Regions from separate parts of the Homo sapiens genome. Here all the other regions are linked to region 2. Evidence: promoter capture Hi-C in human tissues and cell types (Jung and others, 2019). All regions are on one chromosome and are shown on one strand. Each heading gives the region's core, a stretch centred on a gene start or on the middle of the fragment in contact. The rest is flanking DNA. Distances are from core to core; before and after follow the strand shown. Region 1 overlaps IPPK (inositol-pentakisphosphate 2-kinase). Region 2 holds the start of ZNF484 (zinc finger protein 484). Region 3 has its middle 12 kb from the start of IPPK.

The links. Contacts are between HindIII fragments. The study calls those that stand out against the background at their distance.
Region 1: a contact is called between a fragment that was not itself captured here and the fragment with the promoter of ZNF484 in region 2, in 1 of the 25 tissues and cell types used here (spleen).
Region 3: a contact is called between a fragment that was not itself captured here and the fragment with the promoter of ZNF484 in region 2, in 1 of the 25 tissues and cell types used here (dorsolateral prefrontal cortex).

The regions. Positions count from the first base shown.
Region 1 is chr9:92,661,173-92,663,872 of GRCh38, reverse strand. All of the region lies in intron 1 of IPPK (inositol-pentakisphosphate 2-kinase), which reads left to right. Among named protein-coding and RNA genes, the nearest start is that of IPPK, 7.6 kb to the left of the region's middle. The HindIII fragment of the contact is 6,326 bases long and covers 1-2,700 here.
Region 2 is chr9:92,876,633-92,879,332 of GRCh38, reverse strand. ZNF484 (zinc finger protein 484) reads left to right here and starts at 1,295. Exons shown (of 5, transcript NM_031486.4): 1 at 1,295-1,443. RefSeq lists enhancers at 1,052-1,491, 1,005-1,540. The HindIII fragment of the contact is 22,413 bases long and covers 1-2,700 here.
Region 3 is chr9:92,680,495-92,683,194 of GRCh38, reverse strand. No RefSeq gene overlaps it. Among named protein-coding and RNA genes, the nearest start is that of IPPK, 12 kb to the right of the region's middle. The HindIII fragment of the contact is 6,651 bases long and covers 1-2,700 here.

The DNA of each region.
Region 1 (2,700 bases), core at 74-2,573, 220 kb after region 2:
TGTCTGATCTCAGCTTCAGGTTATCTCCTCAGCCTGATGGAAGACTTGACCTTGGTCCTTGTCTTTTGACAGATCTCTGGAACAGCTGATTTTGTGGGTGATACCCCTCCAGAGTGAGTCCTCTGTGGGTGGCGGGAAAGTCTCTCCTCATCTGTCCTGAAAGGCTCTTGTAGTTAGTAGCTTTAATTCCACCCATAAGGTGCCCCCTCAGGCTTCCCATTGGCAGGTGTCCCTTTTAATGTATTGGGGTTTTTGTGGCCTTCTATTTTTATTTAACACCAATTGTTGCTTCTTCTCTCTGAAAATATAGAATATCAGAAGGAAGGAAGTGAAAAACATCCAATATTTCTCCATGAAGAGAACAAGTTTTGTTAACACTTTGGTGCACTTTCTTCTAGTCTTTTTCTATTTATTGTCAAGCATCGCTTAACACCAGGGATGCATTTTGAGAGCTGCATTGTTAGGTGATGTTGTTGCCATATGAACACACCTAGATGGTAGAGCCTGCCCCATGCCCAGGCTGTGTGGGGCAGCCTATGGCTCCTAGTCCTCAGACCCGCGCAGCATGGTTCTGGACTGAGTACTGCAGGCCATTGGGACACAATGGGAAGTGTTTGTTATCTAAAGGTAGAAACTGTGGTATTATAATCCTATGGGACACACCATTGTTTCATGCAGTCCATCACTGACCCAAGTGTTGTTATGTGATGCATGACTGTATTTTGTCTTTATTGGGTAGTTAACAACACTACGTATCTGTTTCTGTTTTGGGATTTTTTTTCACTTAATTTTATAGCACAAATATGTAGAAAATCCTCATGCATGTCTTGAAGGGTGCTCACGTGTTCCCAGTGTTGCGTTGGACATCCTTGTGGGTGGGCTTTGCCGAAAGTCTTCGTACACACTTCTTTGGACTTCTGATGCTCAGGCTGGGTTCTTGGGTGAATTAGGCCCCTTGGCACACGTTGCAGATCGCTTTCCACATGGCTGTGCCACCTACCCTTCCGCTGCAGCCCAGAAAGGGATTTTTATTGAAATGCTTTTTGCCACTTTTGTAAGTGACGAGTTGTGTCCCTTAACCTTTTAAATCTTGGGGTTATTTAGTGTGTGTGTATAAATGCATCACTCCTCTTGTTCTTCCTGTTGTTTGGTGTTTTTGGCTTGTTAGAATCCTTGATTTTCATCTAATTTTCCAAGGTGGAAGCTTCCCTGTTACCAAGACATAAAGGTGTGGCTTGGGCCTTGGTTTAGCGTTGCTTTTGTTAAGAAACACCCCAGCCCTCAGACTGCAGAAGTATCAAGTTCTTCCCTTCCAATCTTAACTCTTTTTCTTCACTTTTTTTTTTTTTGAGACGGAGTTTCGCTCTTGTTGCCCAGGCTGGAGTGCAATGGTACAATCTCGGCTCACCGCAATCTCTGCCTCCTGGGTTCAAGTGATTCTGCCTCAGCCTCCCGAGTAGCTAGGATTACAGTCATGTGCCACCACGCCGGGCTAATTTTGTGTTTTTTAGTAGAGACAGGTTTTCTCCATGTTGGTCGGGCTGGTCTCGAACTCCCGACCTCAGCTGATCTGCGCGCCTGGGCCTCCCAAAGTGCTGGGATTACAGGCATGAGCCACCGCGCCTGGCCCTTTTTCTTCACTTTTAACATTTTATTCTAGACGTTAAGAAGAAGGTAAGTTTCAAATATCTGGTTTCAGATACTTTTTTTAAGAGGAGTAGTGTCATTATCTCCATAGCTGGTTAAGACCTGGTGAGCTGGCAGGAGCTCGGAGCCTGCTGGGGTGTTGGTTCTTGCTCACTCCTTCATGTGAAGTCCCCCAGGTGGCTGTGTTGACCCCCTCTTCCCCAGCCATGGGTGCCCCTTGGACTCATTGTGTCTTTCTGCTAATGAGAGCTGCTACAGTGTTTTTTCACCTGTTTCCTGCCAGCTGCCTGCATGAGGGTAATGGGGCCCTGTGGCCTATGCATTACGAAGCCCTCAGCCTGGCACATCTTGGGGACCACCCACCTCGGCCAGCCCAGCCTGATCAGGTCCCTCACATGGGGCAGTTGGCATGGGCTGTAGAGAATAGGTGAGCTGAGTGTGTCTGAGTTTTGGTATTGATGAAAACTGGCTGAGACTACGGTTCCCCTGGGGGTAGGTTTCTTGTAATAGTTTTTGGATGATAAATGGGTGGGTGGAGAAAGCAGTTTCCCTTGAAATGGACAAATCACTGTATTCAGGTTTCCTTGGTTGGTTGTGGCTCTTGGGCTCCATAATGGGAAGGGATAGCAGGAGATTTCCTGTGAGTGACAGCAGGGAGGCCAAGCCACTGTGTTTGGATGTGGTGGTGGAGGAAATGTGAGGAAGGGGCTGGGAGGGCCGAGTGGGAGGGCCACTTTGGGCTTCTCTGCCCAGGCTTGGAAGGCCTGTGTCCATATCCTCTCCTGGGGGGCAGCACAGTACCCAATGCCCCCAGAGCCTGCTGGTGACTCAGTAGCAGCGAGGAGCCTGGCCACCAGAAAGACGCTGAGAACCTCCCAGGGTCCAGGCCCTCCTCTAAACTTGGCTTCACCCCACATGACCTTGACCTTTGGGGTCAAGACCTTGATCTTGATCAAGGCTTCTCTCCAGGCTGAGGCTGGGCCAGCAGGCGAGGCTGGACCTGGGTTCTCTGAGACCTGATCTGCCCTTGTGCAGTCTCACTTCCCATATTTC
Region 2 (2,700 bases), core at 46-2,545:
TCAGAGTAACACTGGCCTCATGAGTTGGAATATCTTTCTATTGTCTTCTTTCTATTCTTTTTTTATTCTGGAAGAGACTGGATATAATTCGTGTTAACCTTTAAATGTTTGTTAGAATTCTCTGATCTAGCTATCCAGGCCTTAAGATTTCTTTTTCAGATATTTCAAATTATGACTTCAGTTCTAGGGCTATTCAACATAACTATTTCATGTAAGAGAGAATTTGTGCTTTTTCAAGAATTAGTGCATTTCATCTATGTTGTGAAATTTATGTTTGTAGAGTTGTTTGTAGTATTCTCTTTATTCTTTTGATTTCGTCATGGTCTACAGTGGTATCTCCTGTTTCATTCTGGATATTGATATTTTGTGTCTCCTCTACAGATTTGTCAATTTTATTAACATTTACAGAACCAGCTTTTGTTTAATCGGTTTTTCTCTATTTTTCTTTTTACATTTTATTGAGTCATCTTCTTATCCTTATTATTTCCTTTCTTTCACTTGCCTTCGGTTTATTTTGCTCTTCTTTTTCTAGTATGTGAGGGAGCTTGGTTATTGCTTTGAAATTTTTTTCTTTTCTAATGTAAGCCCTTAGTGGTATATACATTTTTCTCTCACCACTGATTTAGCCACATCCCACAAATTTTGATATGTTGTGTTTCACTGTCATTCATTTCAATGTATTTTAAAAATTCATTCACTTTCACTTTCATTCATTTCAATGTATTTTAAAAATTTGAGACTTTCTCTCTGAACAATGGATTATTTAGCATGTGTTTTCACGTGTTTGGAGATTTTCCTTTTATCTTCCTGTTATTGATTTCTAGTTTAATTCTATTGTGTTCAGAGAACAAACTGTATGATTTCAGTTGTTTCAAATTTGCTGAGATTTGTTTTATGACCCAGGTTACTTCATATCTTGCTAAATGTCCCATCGACACGAATAAAATGTGTATTCGGCTGCGTTTGCGGTGTTACATAAATGCTGATTAGTTCCTGTTGATTAACAGTGTTGTTGTGTCCACAGAAGCATTGGAGAAAGACTGTAACCTGAGGTGATAGGCTTTGATTGTGTCCTGGCTTAGTATGATGGGACACACCTCTGCTTGCTTCCTTTCCTTTGGACAACCCTCAGCCTCTCAGTCTCTACATGACCTCAACATGGCCGCCCACAGGCCAGAGTGTCTACATGGGCGCCGCCATACTGGCGCCCAGCCTAAGCCGCTGAAACGGGAGCGTGTTTGGCAAAGCGCCATGTTGATTACTGGCAACCTTCAGGCCATGAAGACTGCTGAGCATGCGCAAACCCAGGCAGCGCTGTAAGAAGTACCTCTAGGCCTGGGAGGCATTGAGAAAAAGGAAGTGGGTCCTGTTCTGGTTCTTGCGACTATAGTCACCTCCCGAGGCAAATGACCACTGTCCTGAGAGGACGTGGGTGAGGGGCAGGTGAGTAGAGGGATGGCAGCATCTGTGGACTGAGCAAGAAGAATCTCTGATGTCTGTCCTGAGCCTTCCGGTCAGTGATGGGGTCGGTCAGTGGATGGAATAGTGGAAGTCGGAGCGATCTCTGATGGTGGATCTGAGGGAGGAGTGAGGGGGCACTGAGGGGTCTCTGGTGGTGGATCTGCAGGCGGAGTGAGGACGGACTGGGGGTCTCTGTCTGGTGGTGGATCTGAGGGCGGAGTGAGGGCGGACTGTGGGGTTGTGGGGGAGGATGACTATGGGAACTAAGGAGGGATCTGAGGAGTGTGAATGATGCACATCTTAATTAGTTTCCTCTCTTTTATACGTACCGATCTGTTTATATTTTCGTTTCTGTTTCATTATAATGATATATTTTGCTAAAGATTTAAAGAATATATTACATAGAATTGCATGTTTCCATTTCCATTTTGTTCTCTTTCATATCCAGACTAGTAGCTCCTTTATCATTACGGTTATTATATTTATATATCATTCATTCTTTCTCTATTTAAAAAGAATCAAGCGTCTGAAAGGTTTATCTGTTTCATTGGACATTTTGAAATGTCCAATAAAATACTCCCTACTCTTTTAATATTAATTTTTTTCTCTTTTTCTTTTTAGGTACTTTCTCTTTTTCCCACTTTTTGATGTAATTTGTTGTTCTTTCCCTTATTTTCTTAAGTTTTATGCGGGATACATTTAGGGTTGTAAAGTTTCTTTAAGTACATCTTTATGAAATGCATAAGTTCATTTTGATGTTTCCCTTTGAATCTTAGTTATTTAGGAGAGTTTATTCATTCCCAAATTATTAAAGTATGTTTTAGCTGTTTTTTATTTTATTGTATTGTCAGAAAATGCAGACTATCAAGTCTCAACTTTTAACAATTTATCAAGATTTTCCTTGAAGCCAAGTTACTCAATGAACTTTGTTCAACAGATATAAAAGAAAAATTATATTTTGTTGTATGGACCAAAATTCTCTTTAATTAAGTCTTGCTTGTTGGTATTTTTCAAATCTTTATCTTTCCTAATTTTGATCTACTTGTTTCATATTCTGGAGGAGATACAATAAAAATCACTTTTAATAGTTCATTTTGCAGTTATATGTGCTTTTTTGCTAATTTTATTTGTGCATCTGAGGGATGGGCATACATACACTTAATGGTTAGTGCATTTTTTATCCTTTTTCATGTATTAAGTGGTATTATTATAGGATCCCTTTTTTCAACCAAAAAGAAA
Region 3 (2,700 bases), core at 124-2,623, 200 kb after region 2:
ACAGGAGTGAACCACCACTCCTGGCCCAGAAGGCACCATACTCTACACGTTGTCTTGCACCTGGAGGTTTTGCTTACTGCTCTGGAGGGTCTCCCTCTTTTCTATGAATGGCTGCAGAGTGTCCCCCCGAAACACACTTGCGCTGCAGGGTGACCAGTCAGTCCCTGCTGACAGCCACAGAGGTGGTTTCCAGTTTTGCTCATAGGAAGTTCTATAGTGGGTACCTTTTTATGGCTGCCTTGGCATAGCTCTCTGTAGGTGCAGTGGGTATCGCGTTCGCCCCAGAACTCTGGGTGTCAGAAGTGTTCTAGTCATGCTTTGCTGTGGCTGCCCTTCTCTTTTTTCTTTTTTTGAGATGGAGTCTCGCTATGTTGCCCAGGCTGGAGTGCAGTGGTGTGATCTCGGCTCACTGCAAGCTCTGCCTCCTGGGTTCACGCCATTCTCCTGCCTCAGCCTCCCGAGTAGCTGGGACTACAGGTGCCCACCACCACGCCCGGCTAATTTTTTGTATTTTTAGTAGAGACAGGATTTCACCGTATTAGCCAGGATGGTCTCGATCTCCTGACCTCATGATCCGCCCACCTCGGCCTCCCAAAGTGCTGGGATTACAGGCTTGAGCCACCGCGCCTGGCCCGGCCTTTTCTCTGTGTCACTTCTCATCTGCCTTCTGTCCATCTGGCCCCCACGCCCATTGGAGCTCCCAATCTTCCTCACTCAGGGTAAGATGCAGGATCTCCCTATGTGGGCCCTGGACAAGGGAGTTGTATCTTCCCTCCTGGGAACATGTGTACAGTGGTGGCTCTCACCCAGGAAATTTTCCCCCAAGTGCCATCTAGGACAGTATGGAGACATTTTTGGTTGTTGCAAGTGGGGGCTGGGGGTGGCTATTGGCATCTAGTGAGTGAATACCAGGAATTCTGCTCACCATCTGTGTTAGTTGGGATTGTCCAGAGAAACAGAACCAGTACTACAGATATTTATAGAGAAAGAGATCTATTGTAAGGACTTGGCTCATGCAACTATGGAGGCTGGTGAGTCCCAAGATCTGCAGGCAAGACCCAGGGACACTGATGTGTGTTCCAGGCCAGAGACTGGCAGGCTCGAGACCCAGGAGGAGGAGATGTTTCACTTTGAGTCCAAAGACAGGAAAAAGCCAATGTCCCAGTTTGAAGGCCTCAGGGAGGAGGAGTTTCCTCTTACTCAGGGGAGGAGCAGCATTTTTGTTCCATTCAGGCTTTTGAACTGAGAGATGAGGCCTGTCCGCCTTGTAGAGGACTGTCGGCTTCACTCAGTGCTGTGGTCTGAATGTCTGTGTCCCCCCAAAATTCAATGTTGAAGCCAACCCCAAGGTGATGGTATTAGGAGACGGGGGCATTAGGGAGATGATTAGGTCATGGGGGAGGAGCCTCAGGAATGGGATCAGTGCCCTAATAAAGGAGGCCTCAGAAAGCCACCTTGCCCCCTCCACCACCTGCCCCTTCCACTATGTGGGGACACAGTGAGAAGGTGCTCTCTATGAGGTAGGGGCCCTCTCCGCATGCCAAATCCGCCGGCTCCTTGATCTTGGACTCTCTAGCCTCCAGGACTATGAAAACACATTTCTGTAGTTTATAAACCACTCAGTCTAGTATTTTATTATAGCAGCCCAAATGGACTAAAACAACCAGTCTGCCAATTCAAATATTAATCTCATCCAGAAACACCCTCACAGACACACCCAGTCAGGTTAACACATGAAATTCACCATCACAGCATCCTACAATGCCCAGAACAATGCCTTCCACAACTCGTAATTCTTTGGTCCAAATGTCAGTAGTGCGGAGATTGAGAAACCCTGGCGCAGAGGAAGGAGCTGCATTTATCTTGATACAAAGGCGTATCTAGGATAAATTTCTATGAAAGGGTGTTTGCATACTTTATATTTTAATAGATATTGCCAAACTGTCCCTGGAAGGATTGCACTAGGTAAGACTACACTCTACAGTGTACAAGAAGGATGTTTGTTATCTCATGGCCTCTCCAGCAGTGGTTATTGTCAAGTGTTTATGCTTGGAACATTTTTTTCTCATCAGAGAGCTGTAGAACCAAGCCTTTGACCAGCAAATCCAGGGACTCTGTAGCCTACTAGTTTTAGCTGTTTTCTAATTATTTTTATAATACAATTCACTGGCTGCTAATGTGGTGAAGCAGGTTCACATTCCTGAGGGCTGAGAGTCGTTTCTGCGTGTTGGGGCTGATTGTAAGCAGCTTGGCTGGGTCTGTACAGTGCTAACTTGAGGTGGTTCCCCTTGAAAGAGGCCAAGGACAGAACTCACTGGGGTTGTCCACTGGGCTGGGGAAAGACATACTTCCCCTGGAGTGGGAACTTACAAGAGGGAAGAGAAGCAAGGCTCAGCAAGGGGCTGGGTCCCAGGCATCTTCACGGAGGCTGCCCTGGGCAGAGAGGCCTCCCCAGGGAGCAGCCCTAAGCCAGGCACCCCCTTCCTTCCCTCTGCCTAGCCCTGCCTGTCACCTCCTCTAACTTCCATCCCTGGGGGACTCTGCTTCTCCTTGGTCCTGCTAGCAGGAGCATCTTCCTGGAGCCAAGTGGGGCCCCAAGGGAGGTCTGGTCAGTTCTAGTTCCCCACAGCCCTGCTTGCTCATGGGCCCCCATGGTCCCTGCCCCGGAAGCATCCCGTAGTTTTTGGCACCTGGTGTGGG